7 separate regions of the Homo sapiens genome follow, and all the other regions are linked to region 1. The links are contacts of gene promoters, found by promoter capture Hi-C in blood cells and fetal thymus (Javierre and others, 2016). All regions are on one chromosome and are shown on one strand. The core of a region is centred on a gene start or on the middle of the fragment in contact, and the rest is flanking DNA. Distances in the headings are between cores, read along the strand shown.

Evidence for each region. The method cuts DNA at HindIII sites, captures the fragments that hold promoters and counts their contacts. A CHiCAGO score of 5 or more calls a contact.
Region 2: the fragment with the promoter of HMSD here is called in contact with the fragment with the promoter of SERPINB5 in region 1 in 11 of 17 cell types (erythroblasts, naive B cells, naive CD8 T cells and 8 more); the score reaches 7.8 in erythroblasts.
Region 3: a fragment that was not itself captured here is called in contact with the fragment with the promoter of SERPINB5 in region 1 in 2 of 17 cell types (activated CD4 T cells and M2 macrophages); the score reaches 5.7 in activated CD4 T cells.
Region 4: a contact is called between a fragment that was not itself captured here and the fragment with the promoter of SERPINB5 in region 1, in 1 of 17 cell types (M2 macrophages). The highest score is 5.1, in M2 macrophages.
Region 5: a contact is called between a fragment that was not itself captured here and the fragment with the promoter of SERPINB5 in region 1, in 1 of 17 cell types (endothelial precursors). The highest score is 6.5, in endothelial precursors.
Region 6: a fragment that was not itself captured here is called in contact with the fragment with the promoter of SERPINB5 in region 1 in 2 of 17 cell types (M1 macrophages and M2 macrophages); the score reaches 7.6 in M1 macrophages.
Region 7: a fragment that was not itself captured here is called in contact with the fragment with the promoter of SERPINB5 in region 1 in 4 of 17 cell types (M2 macrophages, M1 macrophages, M0 macrophages and 1 more); the score reaches 7.0 in M2 macrophages.

What each region holds. Positions count from the first base shown.
Region 1 is chr18:63,475,484-63,478,313 of GRCh38, reverse strand. It overlaps SERPINB5 (serpin family B member 5), which reads right to left and starts at 1,356. Exons shown (of 7, transcript NM_002639.5): 1 at 1,269-1,356. RefSeq lists an enhancer at 1,408-2,607. The HindIII fragment of the contact is 5,766 bases long and covers 1-2,530 here.
Region 2 is chr18:63,947,929-63,950,758 of GRCh38, reverse strand. It overlaps HMSD (histocompatibility minor serpin domain containing), which reads right to left and starts at 1,458. Exons shown (of 4, transcript NM_001123366.2): 1 at 1,359-1,458. RefSeq lists a silencer at 1,391-1,620. The HindIII fragment of the contact is 6,685 bases long and covers 1-2,830 here.
Region 3 is chr18:63,006,329-63,009,158 of GRCh38, reverse strand. No RefSeq gene overlaps it. Among named protein-coding and RNA genes, the nearest start is that of PHLPP1, 290 kb to the right of the region's middle. The HindIII fragment of the contact is 3,147 bases long and covers 1-2,830 here.
Region 4 is chr18:63,026,696-63,029,525 of GRCh38, reverse strand. No RefSeq gene overlaps it. Among named protein-coding and RNA genes, the nearest start is that of BCL2, 290 kb to the left of the region's middle. The HindIII fragment of the contact is 1,117 bases long and covers 846-1,962 here.
Region 5 is chr18:63,075,006-63,077,835 of GRCh38, reverse strand. No RefSeq gene overlaps it. Among named protein-coding and RNA genes, the nearest start is that of BCL2, 240 kb to the left of the region's middle. The HindIII fragment of the contact is 1,896 bases long and covers 521-2,416 here.
Region 6 is chr18:63,866,188-63,869,017 of GRCh38, reverse strand. No RefSeq gene overlaps it. Among named protein-coding and RNA genes, the nearest start is that of SERPINB2, 20 kb to the left of the region's middle. The HindIII fragment of the contact is 1,371 bases long and covers 702-2,072 here.
Region 7 is chr18:63,849,021-63,851,850 of GRCh38, reverse strand. No RefSeq gene overlaps it. Among named protein-coding and RNA genes, the nearest start is that of SERPINB2, 37 kb to the left of the region's middle. The HindIII fragment of the contact is 8,549 bases long and covers 1-2,830 here.

The sequences.
Region 1 (2,830 bases), core at 107-2,606:
CTGACCCAGCCCACTGTTGCCAAGCAGTAAACTTACAGCCAGACTCAGCCACACCAGAATGGCCCAAATCGCTGAGACTGCATAGCCCCAAAGTCAATCCACAACCCAGAGGGATTGAAGTGGCACAATTCAAGGCGTTAGGAAGCAAAGATATAAACCTGCTGACTCATTTCCTTTGGAGACTCCTTTCCTCAGACAGGCTTCATCTCCACCCATGAAGGAACTCATCGAACACTTACACTAACTGACAGGGACTGAGGTTTGGAACCCATTATCGAAAACCTCCCGGGAGATGTAGGGGATGAAAAAGATGGTAACAGAACCCACGGTGTTGTGGAAACATCCCGAGCTGCAAGTGTGAAGGCCTGATTTGATCTCAGCGGTGCTACTTACAAGCTGTGTGCCTTTGGACACCAGATCACCTCTGTGAGTTCTGCTCCTCATCTACAGAATGAGGGGGCTGGGCTGAAATATGTCTAAGAGCCCCCAGCTCTGAGGATCTGGTTACAAGTCTCTGGAATAGCCTGGCATGTTGGTTTTTAGTATGATATGCTTAAATGAAGCCATAAGAAAAAGTGTACAGCATATGAGTAAGAAACTACAAGCAGCTATTACAATTTATAAGTCCAAGAATATGCATCTGAAATGTGTAACTTGTTTAAAGTTATGCTGAAACCCAGAAAACTGAAGGGAGAATAATTTCCGCTTAGAAGAATGCAGTTGCAAGTAGATGAACAGCGATCTGATGCTTAAAAATGCCAAAAAGAAGGGCAGTCCATATGCCTAAATCTCAGCCTTACAACGTCAGCCAGGGAGAAGAGCCAGCCAGACCCACCAATACTTCTCAACTTTCCCCAGTTTGCGGGTACCACACCCTTTCTGAAACTAGCATTGCAAAATTCATTCTGAGTTCCAAAGTAGGCCTGAAAATGTCCTCAGAAGTATTTTCTCCTCCGTGAATCACGGTTGCACCCCTCTACCACCAAAACCTCCGAGCCACGTGACTTCTTCATATTCTTACCTTGTATGGTTAAGTGATTTTACTCCCTCTGCAGTGTTCCTGGTGCTCAAAGGGTTGGGAGCTGGAAATACTGCCAACATGGGGGATGAGAGGCGACAGTACTCAACCCAACAGCCCGTCTTTGAAAACAGCCCCAAAATGGACCTAAGTCCATTTTGTTCACCATCTCAAATCAGCTCAAATAACGATATTTATGAATTTCCCTGAAAAAAGGAAGTCACCAGCCCTGCTACCCCACCTTGCTTACCTGGAGTCACAGTTATCCTGGAAAATGCGTGGAAAAGGAACAGGCAAGCGAGGAGCACAAAGACCTGGATGTGGAGGCGACCGTGTCTGGGCAGAAGCAGCGGTGGCTCACCTGGGCAGCACCGCCACGCCCACTGCCAGCCCAGCTCCACGCCCCGCCCCGCCCCGCCTCGGCGGCACTCCTCTCCTACTCAAGCCTCTTGGCAGCTTGTCCACAATTGAAAGAAATGATTCAGGCTGAAGTTACTGTTGTCTGCACAGCTTCCAAAAGGCCTCCAACATGTTCGGGCAGGAAGGGGCTGTGAGTTACATGCATACGTACAGACATGCGTACGGCAATCCTCTCGGCCCACGCAGGACCGGAAGGTGAAATATTCGATGAAATAAAAGTAATGTGTGATGATAGTAACACTACAAATTTCTCAGACACGTTGGTGGCACAAAAAGTACTCTGATCTCCATTCTTTTTGTGTAAACTGCAGCAGCTCATTCTGCTAGATGCCAAGAGAGGTAGCTGCCCATTAAACAGAAAGACAATCAAAAAAGAAGGAATGGATATATGTATAAACACAGTGCCTACCTAAAAATTAGGTACTATTAGCAAAATATTTACTACCAAATTGGTAGGAGATATTGTTTAATGGGTGGCGCAGGAAGTTTCTTTTTAAAATCCTGTGATTAGGATTACTCAGGCCTGGCGCGGTGGCTCACGCCTGTAATCCCAGCATTTGGGGAGGTTGACGTGAGCGGATTGCTTGAGCCCAGGAGTTTGAGACCAACCTGGGCAACATGGTGAGACCCCATCTCTACAAAAAATGTAAAACAATAGCCTAGTGTGGTGATGCATGCCTGTGGTCCCAGTTACTTGGAAAGCTGAGACGAGAGGATCACTTGAGCCTGGGAGGTCAAAGCTGCAGTGAGCCGTGAGCTAACCACTGTACTTCAGCCTGGGTGACAGAGCAAAAGAAACAAAAAGAAAAAGGAGTACGCAGCTCTGCTCTGAAATCTCTTCGTGGAGCCTGTTCTTGTCCTCCTGTCTTCCCACAGCTTCTTCATTTGGCGGGACCTACTCCCTTCCAGCCGAATCAGTCTCAGGAAAGGACCTGAAACGGAGCTGGTTGCTTCTCTGCTGTGCTTATCTAGAATTCCCTATTGTACATTTACTACATTGTTTCATAATAATCTCTTACATTCTCCTATATGTGACTACAACAATGTTAAAGGTAAGTGCCAAACTTCATTCATTTTTATAACACCAAAGCTTGGTACAGACCTGATGTACAGTATGCAGTCAATAAGTGCTTGTTGAGTAATGAATAAGAGCAACTCGCTATATTAACTGACTAAACTAAGATTGATAACAGCTTCCCCTCCCCCATGTCCTGGGTATTTTAATGTTAACCAGAATCAAAGTCATAAACTAAGTGAACTCCAAAAACAGAATTTTAGGCATCAGTGGAGCAAGTGGAGGGAAGGTCATAGGTGAGGAGGTGTGGAAGGATGCTTCTTAAAAATTCTATTATCCAGCTGTAGGAGGGAAAATGAGAATTTGGGAGCAGAGTC
Region 2 (2,830 bases), core at 209-2,708, 470 kb before region 1:
CATTGGGATTTTGCAAAGACAACTATTAAATTTGCTTTTTTCTTTTTTTTGCCAAATGCCTTTCCTTGAAATGAAATACTATTTGAGGTTCTCGTGCATCTGATTTGCGTAACACAGAGTTCTATCCACAAGTTGGCTTTCAAAGTCTCCTGGTTTAATATTTAGGCCTTCAGGTTGGTTTTTGTAACCACTGTGCCTGTCAACCTAGGTGCCTATAGTCACTATTCCTACACAGCAGTCGTATATGAATCATCACACAGCATTTCTTGTAAACATTATTGAAATTATTTCCTGCCTCCTTTAAACTCATCTTACATTTTTTTTTTTTTTTTTTTTTTTTTTTGAGAGAGAGTCTCGCTTTGTCCCTCAGGCTGGAGTGCAGTGGTGCAATCTTGGCTCACTGCAACCTCTGCCTCCCAGGTTCAAGCGATTCTTCTGCCTCAGCCTCCTGAGTAGCTGGGACTACAGGCCCATGTCACGACACCCGGCTAATTTTTGTATTTTTAGTAGAGACTGGGTTTCACCATATTGGCCAGGCTGGGTCTCGAACTCCTGACCTCGTGATCCGCCCCCCTCAGCCTCCCAAAGTGCTGGGATTACAAGCGTGAGCCACCGCGCCTGGCCCATTTTACTTGTTTTATCTGAATTTACTAAAGGACTCTTTCTTGGCTTTGTTGTAACATGTATTTCAATTAACACATACTGGTTTTTGTTCTTGAGCAAATTCTCACAACTTGTCTACTGGGAATCTCTGTAAATTGGTTACTTTCTTTTTACACTATCCCAACACTTTTGCTTTCTGGCAACAGTATCGTCCTCATTTTGATTTTTTTCCAGTCCAAAAACATACTATCAACGCCTCTCCTGGTTTCTTTTAAAGGAGGAGGAATGTCAAGTACAAATTCTGAATACTGAGAGCATACGAGTTTCGGTACCGACAAATAAATACTGCTGCTGTTGTTTTTCCTGGAGGTCCCAGGCCTCACAGCCCCTTCCAGCGCCCAACATAAACTTCACCAGGGTGGGAGGCCTCATTGTACCTACTTCCAGCTCCTGCAGGATGAGTGGAGCCCAGGCAGGACTTTCACCCCCCAGCTCCGCGCCCATTCGCCCTGGCCTCCCCTCCCCGCGCCTGGACCCATAGGGCACACAGCCAAGTGCAGCCAAGTCCCTGCCCTTAGGGAGCCCCCGCCAGAGACCGAGTAAAGAAGGACAGCCCCAGGGAAAGGTCTGGAGCAACAGGTGCGCTGAGCACTTCACTGGGCTTCCCTTTCGTAGGTTCCCGCCCTTTTCCTGGGCTCAAGAGCAGGTAACGAGAATCCAGCGTGTGGGAACCACTCCCAAAGTCAAACACCTACCCCAGTTCTCCGCGCAGCTGCCCAGGAGCGAAGTGAGACCGGGTCGGAGAGGCGGGAATAGAGATGTCTGAGCGGCGCCGGGTGTTAGTTCCCAGTGAATGGGGAGGCGGGCGGAGTCGGGCCCAGCCAGGCACCACCTAGCGGGCGCCTGGGCAGGAGGGCGGGGCGGGTCCCGCAGGCCGCGGGGATCTCCTGATGTGCAGGAAGTGGCCAATCTCTGTGCAGGAAAAAGCCCCAACTGTCCGGGAGTTTTCAGTCAAGAAGCGATAATGCGCTTTGGCTATTTGGGGTTTTTCGTGGTTCCATACAAATTATAGGGTTTTTTTTTTTTTCTATTTCTGTGAAGAATGACATTGGTATTTTGACAGGGATTGCATTCAATCTGTAAATTGTTTGGGTAGCATTGTACTTTTAACATTAATTATTCCAACCTATGAGCATGAATATGTGTCCATTTTCTGTGTGTGTTCTTCACGTTTTTCTCATCAGTGTTTTATAGTTGTCCTTGTAGAAGTCTTTCACTTTTTTAATTAAATTGATTACTAGGTATTTTATACATCATATTTCTTATAGCTATTGTAAGTGGGATTTCTTTCTTGATTTCTTTTTCAGACTGTTCACTGTAGATGTATAGACATCTTACGGATATTTTATATCCATTTTGTATTCTGCAACTTTACTGATTCATTTATTAGTTCTAGTAGTTTTTGAGGGGAGTCTTTTGGTTTTTCCGATTATAAGATTATACCATTGGTGAGCAAAGCTAATTTTACATCTTTCTTTCCAGTTTGGGTGTCCTTTGTTTCTTTTTCTTGCCTAATTGCCCCGGCCAGGACTTCCAGTCAGATACTGAATAAAGGGGGTGAAACTGGGCATCCTTGTCTTGTTGCAGATCTTATAGGAAAGGTTTTCAATTTTTCCCTGTTCAGTATGATATTAGCAGTGGGTTTTTCATTTTGGTTTTTATTGTTTTGAGGTATATTCCTTCTATACCCAATGTGTTAAGGATTTTTATCATAAAGAGATGTAGGATTTTACTGAATACATTTTCGGCATCTATTGAAATGATCGTGCAGTTTTTGTTGTTGGTTCTTTTAATGCAATGTATCGCATTTATTGATTTGTGTATATTGAATCATACTTGCATACCCGGGTGAATCTCACTTGATCGTGGTGAGTGATCTGTTTAATGTGTTGTTGAATTGGAGTTGCTAGCAATTTTTTGAGGATTTTTTCTGTTTTTTACCTGTTGATATGACGGATTCCTTTGATTTTCAAATGTTGAATTAGTCTTGTACACCTGCAATCAATCTTACTTAGTCACAATGTATAATCCAACTATTTTACACATAGTTTGATTTCATTTGTGAATATGTTGTTCAGGATTTTGCATCTATACTAATGAAAGATATTGGTCTTTAAGTTTCTTTTCTTCTAATGTCTTTGTCTGGTTTTGTTATCAGAGTAATTCC
Region 3 (2,830 bases), core at 190-2,689, 470 kb after region 1:
AGGGAGGAAGGGAGCGATGAACAGTTGGAGCCCAGGACGGGTTTAGGGCAATGAAACGATTCCACACGACATGATAACAGTGGATACATGACATTTTGCGTTTGTCAAAATGCATAGAATTGTTCAAGACAAGGAGTGAACCCTAATGTAAACTACAGATTTCAGTTGATAATTATGTCAATATTGGCTCCTGAACTGTAACACGTGTACAATTTGTAAGATGCTGATAATAAGGGAAGCTGTGTGTAGGGAGAAGAGAGGGTATTTGGGAACTCTGTACTTTCTGGGCAATTTTTTCTGTAAACCTAAAACTGTTCTTAAAAATGAAGTCTATTAATTAAAAAGAACAACATAGCGAAGTCAAAAGACTGGAAAAAAATATTTGCAATTTGTATTACAGACAAAAGACTAATTTCCTGAATGTATAAAGCACCAGAAAATTGAAGGGCCAACAACTTGAATGAAAAAACTGATAAAAGACACAACAGATAATTCACCAAAAAAGAATGCAAATGACCCTTAAAGGTATGAAAAAATATGAAACTCCACTCATAAGAGAAAGGCAAATTAAAGCCATACTACGGTGCCATTTCTCACCTATCAGATCGGCAAATATTCACAGCTATGATAAGCGTTCTGTGATCAGGGTGGAGGAAACAGGCACCTTCGTATATTGTTGTTAAGAATGCGAAACAGCAGGCCGGGCGTGGTGGCTCACGCCTGTAATCCCAGCACTTTGGGAGGCCGAGGCAGGCGGATCACGAGGTCAGGAGATCGAGACCATCCTGGCTAACAAGGTGAAACCCCGTCTCTACTAAAATTACAAAAAATTAGCCGGGCATGGTGGCAGGCGCCTGTAGTCCCAGCTACTCTGAAGGCTGAGGCAGGAGAAAGGCGTGAACCTGGGAGGCGGAGCTTGCAGTGAGTGGAGATCGTGCCACTGCACTCCAGCCTGGGCGACAGAGCAAGACTCCATCTCAAAAAAAAAAAAAAAAAAAAAAAAAGAATGCAAAACAGCACGACCTTTATGAAAGGGAATTTGGCAATATCTACAAAAATTGCATATGCTTTACCCTTTGACTCGGTAAATTCACTTCTAGAAATCCATCCCAAGGAAATATTGGGAAAAAAAAAAAAAAAGCAAAATGCCCAGGCACGGTGACTCACACCTGTAATCCCAGAACTTTGGGAGGCTGAGGTGGGAGGATTGCTTGACTCCAGGAGTTCAAGACCAGCCTGGGCAACATATTGAGACCCCGTCTCTACAAAAATTTAAAAATTAGCTGGGTGTGGTGGCACATACCTGTAGTCCCAGCTACTTGGGAGGCTGAGGTGGGAGGTTCCCTTGAGCCCAGGACCTCCAGGCTGCAGTGAGCCATGATTCTGCCACCGCACTCCAGCCTGGGCAACAGGGGGAGACCCTGCCTCAAAAAAAGGAAAAGAAAAGAATTAAAGAAAACTAATAAAAATGGTTAGCAAGAACAGAAACTACACTGCTTGAGATTACCTTCTTATAGGTTTAACTTTGGGCCATGTAACTAAAAAAATTACTAACGAGCATCCCTTTTTCCTGGTTCCAGGTCACTCTGCACAAGGCTGCAAGAAACATCCTTACACATATGTCCTTACATGCTGACGCTTTCATTTCTACAGGATGGAACCCTAAGAGAGGAATTGTTGAAGAAGTCATACATTTTTAAAATTATGGAAATTGTCAAGCATGCAGAAATAGAAAGATATGTATAATGAACCTAATGTATATTAATCAGCTGGCAGAGTCTCACAGAGAAAGAATGGCTTTGGTGGCCTTTAGAGGCAGTATTTTGACTGTACATACTTGGCGGAATATGCCCTCAGGACAAGAAAGAACAGCAAAATAATTTAAAACTGGCCACAGGAGCCAAAACTTAAAAGGGCTCCCACTGATGTGAGCTGGAACAATTTGAGTATTTAAAAAAACAATAAATGCAATGTATTGAAACACATAAAATACACAAAATCCATGAATTAACAATTGCACTAAAAAAAATTATTGGTCACTGTTGGAGAACACTAGGGCATCAGTTCATTATTCTGAAAATTGATACAGAAAAAGAAGCCAACATTTATTCTGCCTTTCCTGAACAAATCATATTTCAGGGCAACCAAACAGTTCATAAGGCAGTTTGCTTTTATCCAAGAATTCCAGCTAATTATTTCAGAAGGAATGACAGAGCTAGAAATCGCCATTTTGTAACATCTCTCGGAATAATGGACCTAGGCTGCATTATGAGCAGAGGGTCAGAGCACTCGGTGAAAAGTTGATAGGAATTTTATCTTGGACTGATCAGACTGACATACTCTGAAGCTGCTGACCAATATTTGGTATCCCCCATGTGCATGTGCTAATTACCTATCTATATGAACATATAGGCCATAGGAATATGTATATATTGGAAAGTGTAGAAAACAACACTAGGTTAATATAGATCACCGGGAGCGGGGAGTTTGGATGGTTCAATCCTATTTATGTAAGGCGACATGTGTTTATGTGTGCTAAAAGCAAGGCAAGAAAGGAGGATCACCGAAGCTGTTAGGGTCGTCTTTGCTCAGATCGTTCCACCCCTGAGAAGCCTCCCCTCCCATGCTCTCCAGCACAGAGCTCACGCCCCTTGGCCATGCTGAATCATGAGGTGGTCTTACCATAGGAGGACAGGACGCCAATACACAGGAGAGCTTGGTGCAGTACGTGTGTGCAGGATTCTGCTACATAGCCTGGTTCACCGGGACCTGGCACCACACATAGGCCTTGCAGAGAAGGCAATCCCAGCCAGACCCACGGCAGAGGAAG
Region 4 (2,830 bases), core at 155-2,654, 450 kb after region 1:
ATTTCAAATTGAAATCCCAAAATTGATATATCAGAGCTTCAAATGTATATTGTTTCTACCCCTTATTTATTATGTAGATTATCCTGATTATAAAACTTATTAATAAACTTAACACAAAATATTAATACCACAGGTTTGTTTTCCTTCACCATTTCTCTGCTTATATTAATATAATCTTAGAACTGTAAAGCCACTTAAGTAGAGAGGACAGATTCTTATCACTTGGAACAGCACTGATAAGACTGGGATGAAGTTTCAGGACTACAGTGAAATTGCTTATTGGTCAGAGATTGAGTGGGATGTGGGCATGACTGACCCTACCAAAGCATGGGTGAATATACTGAACCAATTCCATCAACCAGAAACCCAAAGCCACGCTTTTCAACTGGGATTTAGTCTTCAACCAGTGCATCGTGTTTCTATTTTATCCACTTTTTAATCAAACCCTTTTCACCTCTTTATTACCTGAGTTGGGTAGATGTGCCCCTACCCATATTGTAACCAATTTCCTTCATCATTTGTTTGGACTCTAATAACCTCTCTATGGTCTGATTGGATACTATGTGTTACTGTTTGCTTGTTATTTGGTTCTCATCCACAATTCTGCTATCATTTTATTCACAAGGATGGACATTTCATCTGACCAAGGCATGTCAGGAAAGACTTACAGGAAGAAATAATGTCAAAGCCAAGATCTGAAAGATTCATCCATCTATTTTTAAAATATTTATTGAGTAATTAACATATGCAAGTACTGATTTGGTATCTACTGAGTAGCTAACATATTCAGATACTAGTAGTCTAGTGGTGAACGCAACAGATTAAATGGCTGCCCTCATAAAGCTTATCTTTTGGTGGAGGAAGGCAACAAGTAACTAATACGGTATAAATGGGGGGATGACATGTGAGCAGTAACCTGAATGTCAAACAACAGGGGAAGGTGTAAGAAGATAAAGGAAGTCACTAAAAAGGATGACATAGATGAGTGGTTTTCAACTCTGTCAAGCTCAACACCCCTTTATAATAGTAATAAATATTTTGTAATACCCCTCTTTTGTTACCCTGAAATTAAATTCACAGATAATATATTTACTCAGGTGCATAATTTTTTAAAAGAATGTACACAATGGCCTGACCATAATAGAAACAATTCAAATAGAATAAAACCTATGCATTTTTTATCCATATATGTCCAGTCACAAAAACAACTACTGTAGGTATTTCAGAGGAGAGTTAATGTAGAGAATTGGTTACAAAGATTTTGGAAAGGCTGGAAGAGCAAATCGATGAAGGTAGGGTTTTCCAGGATTAGTAACTATAGGGAATGACTACCCCCGAGAACTGGAGAAGCAAAAACAGAAATGGTGTTACTCAGAGTCGCTGGTAGCCAGGCTGTGGCTGCCATCCTTCATAGCATAAGATCCAGGATGAACCAGAAGCCAGTGTCTCCTACTGGCAGACCCTCAAGTGAGGCAAGATGGGAAGGAATCTAGGAGCTGGAACTTGGAGGTTTCCAGCCCCAGAGGCAGAAGGCAGAGCTTAGAAGAAGTGTGCATTGCCAAGAGATCACAGTGTCAATTTGCAATTTTTAGACACAACTACATTTGAAGATACAATGAAGAAGTCAGATGCTTGAATCTACTTTTAAATAAGTTGAGATTTAGTAGGAATAAGACAATGTTCCACTAAATGTAGACACTTTATTTATATGATGTTTAGAAATAGAAGGCTAAATAAGTATATTCACCTCTATGTATAGTCATCACAGATACAGTGACCACCACACACCTATATACAGGTGGTGTGATGTTGTGATGTTGATTGAGCTGCTGTCACTGGCATTGCCATTGCTGACGAGATTCTCCAGGTGGTTGAGTCAACATTTCACAGTAAAAGGTCTAAACACACTATTAGTTGCATTGCTGGAAAATTTAGTGTATACTAAAACCACACCAAAAAGCTTCGTGCTTATATGCAAAATGAAGTTAGGTTTGGGTTTCAAATCATTATAAATTTTTTTTTTACCTGTATGAATGTCCATTAGGATGTTCAAAACTGGGGCTGGACTCGAGTTTTGGAGGACATCTAATTTTTCACTCCTTTGTCTTCTAAATGTCATTTGCACGTTGCCACCACATCCCACTCCCACCTCTCATTATTATGACAACTAAAACTGTCTCCACAGATTTTCGGTCCCCAAAAAAAGAGGCAGCAGTGATTCTGAAAAGACCATTTTTCACATGGAAAATTATTATCGTGGCTGGGCGTGGTGGTTCACGCCTGTAATCCCAGCACTTTGGGAAGCCGATGCAGGTGGGTCACCTGAGGTCAGAAGTTCTAGACCAGCCTGGCCAACATAGTGAAACCCAGTCTCTATTAAAAATACAATAATTACCTGGATGTGGTGGTGGACGTCTGTAATCTCAGTAACTTGGGAGGCTGAGGCAGGAGAATCACTTGAACCCGGGAGGCGGAGGTTGCAGTGAGCCAAGATCACGCCACTGAATTCCAGCCTGGGTGACAGAGCTAGACTCCATCTCAAAAAAAAAAAGAAAACAAAAACAAACAAACAAACAAAAAAACAGAAAAGAAAATTATTACCATCTGTGAAGTGAAAAGCAGGTTAGGAAATAATATTTCAGAATAATTCCCTGTCATTATTTTGAAAAGTGTTTATTCATACATACAAGAGAAAGGCTGGCAGTTGTCTTAGTCCATCCCTGGCTGCTGTAAGAAAATACCATACACTAGGTGACTTATAAACAACATACATGTATTTCTCATCGTTTGAGAAGCTGAGAAGTCCCAGATCAAGGTGCCAGCAGATTTG
Region 5 (2,830 bases), core at 219-2,718, 400 kb after region 1:
ACAAATATTTTTAGAACCATAAGAAAGATGAAATAAATGAACTCATGTCAATTCAAGAAGATAGAAAAAGAACAACGAGTTTAGGCAAAAAAAATGTGATGGAAAGAAATATTAAAGATAAAAACAAAAAAATAAGAAAAGGAAACAAAAGTAAAATAGAAATGACAGAATGAGTCTTAGAAAAGAAAAATAATGCTAATAAAATAAATCCCCATTAAGGCTGATAAATAAAGAAAAATGAACAAATAAACATTAGGAATAGAAAATATAATGTAACCACATATGCAGCAGAAACAAAATCATAAGGGAATCTGTGGCACAATTTTATGTCTATTCTGAAATTGGCTGAATTTTAAAATAGAAAAACTGAATAAAACAATTAGCATTAAAGAAATTGATTTGACAATCAAATATACCTGCCCTCAAGCCACCTCCCCAAAAAGACACTAGTCTTAGCTGATTTCAGCAGTGAATTTCATCAAACCTTTAAGGAAAAGGTCATTGCTATCTTATATAAGCTTCCCAGACAACAGAAAAGGACAGTAGGCCACTGAGTTTAGATAGTGTAGAATTAACACCAAAATGAAACAAGGACAGTACAAGAGACAGAAACTATAGGTTATCTCACTTATAATGTAGATTAAAATTCCTGAATAAATATTAGCAAATGGAATCCAACCAGAGTATTTTTTTTTTAACGATCACAACTAATTTTGATGTTTCCCAGGAAGGTAAGAATGTCAGAAATATCCATCAGGAGAACTTTACAACATTTATAGATCAAAAAGAAATAAAATGACACATTTTATTCTATAAATTCAACACCTTCTCTTATCTAAAAGAAAAACTCTTAGGAAGCTAGAAATGGAAGAGAACTTCCTTAATTTGATGAAGGGTTTTTATCAAAAACCTAAAGCAATCATATCACATCTTTCTGGATTATCCCTATTAAAACCAAGAAAAGGCAAGCAGGGCAGCCATCACCACCCCAGTCAACTTTACACAGAAAATACTAGCGAATGCAGTAAGCAACAAATAAATAAAATGCATAAGGTTTGGAAAGGAAGTGAAAATTTATTATTTTTAGGCATAGAAAATGCATAGATGGGTGGCGCACGGAGACTTATGACTGTAATCCCAGCATTTTGAGAGGGCGAGGCAGGTGGATCACCTGAGGTCGGGAGTTTGAGACCAGCCTGACCAACATGGTGAAACCCCATCTCTACTAAAAATACAAAAAAATTAGCCAGGTGTGGTGGCACGTGTCTGTAACCCCAGCTACTCAGGAGGCTGAGGCAGGAGAATCACTTGAACTGGGAGGCAGAGGTTGCAGTGAGCCAAGATCGAACCATTGCACTCCAGCCTGAGCAACAAGAGCAAAACTCTGTCTCAAAAAAATAAATAAATAAAATAAAATAAGAAAGAAAGAACAAAGAAAATGCATAGATATCAACAGAAAATCTTTTAGAACTAAAAAAGGATTCAGCAAGGCTACTGATTACAAGATCAACATGCAAAATTCAATAACTTTTGAATGTGAACAATAACAAATGGGAAAAAATTGGAAAAAAAAAAAGCCAGCTCACAATAGCAGCAAAACTATAAAGGACCTAAAGAATATACATTACGTACCATTTTTAAGAGCTTTATGGGAAAAAATTATAGTTTTATTAAAGGATATAAAAGAAGATCTGAATAATGGGTAAGAGGTCTCAAAAGCATAAACATGTCAATTCTGCCCAAATTATCTATAAATTTAAGTAAATTCCAAATAAAATCTCAGCAGAACTTTTCTGTTCATTTGTAACGTGATTCTAAAATTCATATGGAAAAGTGAATTATCATTGCCAAGATAATTTCGAAAAATAAGAACAATGGGTGGGCAGGAGCAGTTGGCCTGCGGATTCTGAAACATTCTAGACAGTCACAGAAATTAAAATATAGTTGTCTGAGCAGAGGAAGAGGCAGCGGACAGAATAGAGAGCCTGGTGCAAATCCATGTTCATGCAGGATTCACATGTAGGGGCTACGTGGGATGTGGAATATGATAGCGGTGGCACTAGAGATCAGCAGGGAAAGATGAGCTTGTGCCATCATTGATGATGGAAGCATTGGCTTTTCATATAAAAGACTCCTACACTAATTATACAAAAATTAATTCCAGAAGAATTAAAGACCTCAGCACGAAAAATCGCAACTAAACACTACTGAGACGTGAGACCTCAACCACATCTTGAATGCAAAATTTCATCGAATGTGAATATCATAATTCTATGTATGGAAAATTTTTAAATAAGACAAAGCATAACTGTATGTTGTTCATGAAGATATTTTTTAGTTTAGTTTCTTTTATTTTTATTTTTTTATTTTTAAGTTTGAAGAATATCTTTATGGCCCAAAGTGAATCTGCCAAGCTTTTTAGGCCACCTTGCGTGCATTTTAGTTGTTTCCCCAAGGGAGAATCTGAATCGGTGCCTTCCCTGACTCTTTCCCAGCCAAAATGCGGGCACGTGACCAGGCCTGCCAATCAGACACGGGGGCCTCGGGCCGCGGGAGGGAGCTGGCTGGCTGCGCGTCTCCGGGAGCCGCTGTCATTTCAGTGGCGCATTCTGGGCAAAGGCGGTGTGGTCCCGGGGTGGGCAGCAGATTCCGGAAAGGGTCAGTTGGTTCTGGGAGTGTCCCTTTCATTGTCTCAGGCCTCTTTTCCCATCTGTCCCAAACGTTGTGTGAACTCCCTTCTGTCTCTCCTAAGTTCTTTTCTGCTTAAACTGGTCAGACCGGATTCTACTGCTTACAAATGACAACTGTAACTGACACGCAACCCTGCAGA
Region 6 (2,830 bases), core at 138-2,637, 390 kb before region 1:
TTTCTGCTTATTGTTTCAGGCTTTATTTATTTATTTATTATTTATTTTGCTGGAGCCTGTCTCTGTCACCCAGGCTGGAGTGAGATGGTGCGATCTCATCTCACTGCAACCTCCGCCTCCCAGGTTCAAGCAATTCTCCTGCCTCAGACTCGTGAGCAGCTGGGACTACAGGTGCACTACAGCCCACAACAGCCCGGCTAATTTTTGTTTTTTTTTTTAGTAGAGACGGGGTTTCACCATGTTGGCTAGGCTGGTTTGAACTCCTGACCACAAGTGATCCGCCCGCTTTGGCATCCTAAAGGGCTGGGATTACAGGCGTGAGCCACCATACCCAGCCTGCTACAGGCTTTTATAATAGATTATGAAACCTTGTTGTGTAGAAGTGAAAACTAACGCTCTTCCTTGCTTCTAATATAACAAAGCACTTTGAGTATGGGAAAAAAATTGCATCTTGGGATCATTAATAACATGGTTATTACATCTGGCTATAGTTTCACTCTCAAATAATAAAAACCTCAAATAAACCTGGTCTCCCTAATTAGTCACATCCGAAGCTATGGCATGACCCTTATGAATACAACACAAGTACGTGAAAGTCATTGCTTTTTCCACTATCGATGGATTAATGTAAATTTGGAAATCTTGGTAATTTTGCACATAGTTTTCTTCTGAGGTTACCTGTTCTTTCCTTTTCTAAAGCTTTCTGTCTCTGGATCTTTCTTTGATATCTATTTCCCAAGAGATGAAGCTATCTGAGTTCTACTGCTAACCCCAACGGAAACATGCAGGTTACAATGCACCTTGTCTGGATAGTCCAGCAAACCAGAAATAATCGAAAAGCAATTCCAATCTTTGCTTCCATCTCTTGGAAGAAAGAGGGTTTCCAGTTGAGGCCTCCATGACACCACATCAAAAATCCCTTTGCAACTCTTTTCCAATTCTATCAACAACAGCCCTGTGCCTGGACCTTTGCCTCTCCCTCTTGCCTTTGCTCTTCGATGTCTCTCTCTGCTCCCTACTCTCACACGCCCTCTCAGACACCTAAACCCCTTGCTTTACAAAAATTCCTCAGGCCTCTTCCTTTTCCTCCTTTTTATTAGCTCTTAATTAGATCTGTTAACTTACCCTCTGGGTTATACACATTACTCAGTTTCTCCTGCCTAGAAACTAATCCATGAAGCAAGAAACCTCCCCCACATAATAGAAGCAAAGAGAATAGAGAGAGGCAGACCTGTGGTGGAGATTGTGAACACTAATTCATTAACTTAATTTAATGTGTTCATTTAACTTAATGAAAAGCCGTTCATAATTTTTAATTCAATTTAAAATGAAGATTTACATTATATTAATTAAAAAGTATTATGTTATTTTCATAAAACTCAAACATGAGCACAAACAGCTATGCAAAATATTTGCCTCTCCCAATTCCTTACCCCACCCAGTTACTCTCAGCTTGTTTCAACACATTTCTAGCTTTCTGACTCCCAGTTTCTGGTTTCATGTCCCAGGTTTAATGATTGCTTTTGAGACCCTTTGGCTATGACAATTCTAAAATTTCTCTTTCTGTTTCTTTTTTTCTCTTTTTGATAAAGACTTTTCCATCTAGCTTTTAGTTTGTCTTGCTTCTTTGTTTTGATGTTACCATTGCCTGGGATGAGAACTTCACAAAACCCCTCACCACATACACTTGCTTCCCTCACCCCAAATTTAAACAGATAGTGGTATACCTGTCTGACTTGTTCACTACACTATAATTCTACAGTGGAAGTTAAATCATGTTTCTCTCTGCTTTGAGCAATGTAAGTATTCTGCAGATGTTGGCTGAATTAAATGTAATGGAATTATCTTTCACAGTATGAAATTGACCTCCCCACCTACTCAATGCCATCCTCATCATTCTCCGCACCTTCGCTGTGAACTCTGCAGGATTCATTCCAGCTCTTCCTTCCTCCTCCCTCCCCTTCACAGCCCTCTTCTATCAATGCTGGGCTGAGGTAACCACCTACTTCGCACGCCCTTATTTTTGTACTTATATGTAGACAGTGTGTTTAATAGTGAAAAGAACACAAGCTTTGAGTCGATTCATAAAATCATAGTGATGAATAACATTCTACGTGCATAATGACAATTCTGAAATTGCACATTACTATATGCGTTCATGGTACTAAGCAATTTAGCTATATTATCTAATTTAATTTGTATGATAACCATATGTATTAGTACTATGATTGCCCCATTTCATAGAGGAGAAAAACAGAGCTTAAGGATAGTAGAGCACTTGCTCAAGGTTGCACAGCTAGTTAGTCAGGATGTCAAGGCCCCATTCTTATCAACTGTATCTTAACAAAATCCCAATCAACTTTTAACGTCTACTCCAACTTACCTGGATAACTTTGGACAATTTATTAAGCTCTCTCATATCTTTATATGTAAAATGGGCTTTAATATGATCTATCATTTAGTTTTTGTGTGAAATTAAATGCAATAATACATAAAGCATTTATTCATATTTAGTATTGGGCACATGGAAGTGGCTCCATAAATGCAGTCATATCCCTATTTTCCCCATCATCATCATAATTTATGACATTAATTAAACTTTTTTTTTTTATTATACTCTAAGTTTTAGGGTACATGTGCACATTGTGCAGGTTAGTTACATATGTATACATGTGCCATGCTGGTGCACTGCACCCACTAACGTGTCATCTAGCATTAGGTATATCTCCCAATGCTATCCCTCCCCCCTCCCCCGACCCCACCACAGTCCCCAGAGTGTGATATTCCCCTTCCTGTGTCCATGTGATCTCATTGTTCAATTCCCACCTAT
Region 7 (2,830 bases), core at 197-2,696, 370 kb before region 1:
ACAACCTCAAATGCAGGTTAAACAAGTGCAAACCGTTGGGTCCCTTTCCTGGCCAGCATCAGTTTTAAAGTTACCGGGAACTGCTATGCCTCAAGATCTCCCTGTTTTCTGGTGTGATCTCAGCTCACTGCATCCTCTGCCTCTCAGTTCAAGTGATTCTCCCTGCCTCAGCCTCCTGAGTAGCTGGGATTACAGATGCCTGCCACCACATCTGGCTAATTTTTTTTTTTTTTTTTTTTAGTAGAGATGGGATTTCACCATGTGGGTGAGGCTGGTCTCAAACTCCTGACCTTAGGTGATCTGCCCGCCTCGGCCTCCCAAAGTGCTGAGATTATATGGGTGAGCCACCGTGCCCGGGCAAGACCTATTGTTTTCATAAAAAGAAGAAATATGTTATCAAATATCTCATTACTCCCAGCACAAGCCCTGTTTTATCACTCACAATCAACATATAGCAACCGTTTGCCTAATTCTTCCCTACCTTTGGATTCCTAGCTCACCCTTTGACCTTGTCTCCTATTGATGCTTCCCTGGTGCTAACAGTGGCTTCTCTCCATTAGATACAATAGTTTCTGACAATCTATATATGATTAGTGCATACCTTGCATTATTCTTGAAAGACAGCATTAGAAATGGATTCCACCTAAATATACTGTCAATAGGAATAATCTCCTATACTAGACTAGACGATGTCTAAAATCTTACCATCAATGCGGCCACAGTCTACTGTCTCTGCTAATCCACGTCTAAATCTAGGACATGACTGTGCGGGGCTTAGTATTACATTCTAAGAGAGTTATCCTGTTCAGCACACAGATTAAGGCCACACCACTGTAAGAGGGGAAGCAATTTCAATGAACATGTCAATCACTGGAAAGTGAAGGAGGTGCTAAAACAGAAAATACAGTTCAGAGGTAACTATGAGTGAGGGGGGAGGGAACTGTATTTCTCTCTAGGTCCAGCGTTGAAGACATTTAAATGCCTGGATTTTTGATTGTGTGTACTAGGTATTAAGAGTCACCCTGACTGTGGAGGAGGGCCCGAGATCAGGATGGGACATGTTCAAGCCCCAGAGTGCAAGCATATTTTGTAAGATATCATCCAGTTTTACATTGTTCTGTTTGGTTGACTCCACATCCTTTAGTTAAGTCTCCTTAAACAATTTCTATTTTGTCTCATCATACCTCAGAGAATTAAAAGGAAAATGAAGTTTGGCAAACAAGAATTATTTTCTATTATCAACCCTAAAGAAGCCGAATTTTATTTTTATTAAGGAAATACAGTACTTCCATACTTGATTCTCAAAGAGCATTTTCTGATTTTTTTCATTGTGTTATCCGACTACAGTCCCCTTGTTTAAAACCTTAAAATATTCTATTATTTTCTGTTGTAACATTTATTATAATAATAGTGGTAGAGTTCATGGTGTTATTTTCTTTATTTCCCTCATTGGCTTGGTAACTATACGCTATCAGAGACCAAGTCTTCTTTCATTTCCTGCAGCATTTCAGTATTCTCAACTGATGTCAATAAATAATTAAGTCCCGCATATTGTGTAAAGCAGGATTTCTCAACATCAGCACTGTTGACATTTTGGGCTGGGTAATTATTTGTTGTGGGGCTGTCCTTTACATTGTAGCATGTTCAGCCACATCTCTGGCTTCTAACCACCGGATGGCAGTAGCAGCCCTTCCCTACAATTCTGACCATCAAAGATGTCTCTAGACACAGAGCCAGATGTCGCCCAGGGGCAAAATCACCCTTAGTTGAGAACCATGATCAAGAATATTGCAGCATTCAAAATGCTTTCAGGTTAAAAAATAAAGAATACTGCATCATTCAAAATTCTTTCACAAAAAAAGATGATTGTTAAAAGTTGAATGATAGTAGTGATAAATAAAAATCTGGCTTAAATTGATTGAATCATGTAATTTTCAAACATTTATTTTGGCAATTTCCAAAAGCCTCAAAATAGATGGAAGAAAGGGAAGTAGCATTAATAGATCATACCTACTAGGCACTAGGCACTTACCTTACAGTGATTCATCTAATGATCCACAAAATGTAATGAAATAAGTTAATATCAGGACTCCAGAGAAGGGTCTGTTTTCTGAGGTATTCTCCACAAAATGTAATGAAATAAGTTAATATCAGGACTCCAGAGAAGGCTCTGTTTTCTGAGGCATTCTCCACTGACCATTCACCATTAGTGTAATAATTTTTAAAATAGCATAATAGTTAAGCCCATGGGCTATAGTGGTAGCTAGAGGGTTCCAGGCCTGGTGTTGCCATCTGTTAGCTGTGGGACTAGGGCAAGTTATAAGCACTCTGTGAGCTTCAATTTCCTCACCCATGAAGATGGATTTAATTATAGTACTCCCTTCATAGGTTTTGTGAGAATTAAGTGACATAATGCATACAAAGTGTTTAAAACATTGCCCAAACCTTAGTACCCAATAAATATTGCTTCTAAAAATAAAATTAACTTTACATCAAAAGGAGCACACCAATTGCAAGCACCTAAATAGTAAGACATAACCCGATTTCAGAGACTTTAAAAATACCTTAAGCATTTATCTGATAACTCATGTTGTTGTCCATCTTTTCATGTGCTTATTGGCCATCTGTATATTTTCTTATGTAAGGTGTCTGCTAGAATATTTTGCATGTGTTTTAACTGAATGTTTTTCTTTGAGTTTATTATTTTGAATATAAGACCTTTATCTGCTATATGTGTACAAATATTTTCTCCCAATTTCTGATTCACCTTTTTGTTTACTAGGAAGAGCAAATGTTTTTACTTTTGATAAACTCCAATTATCCTTTTTTT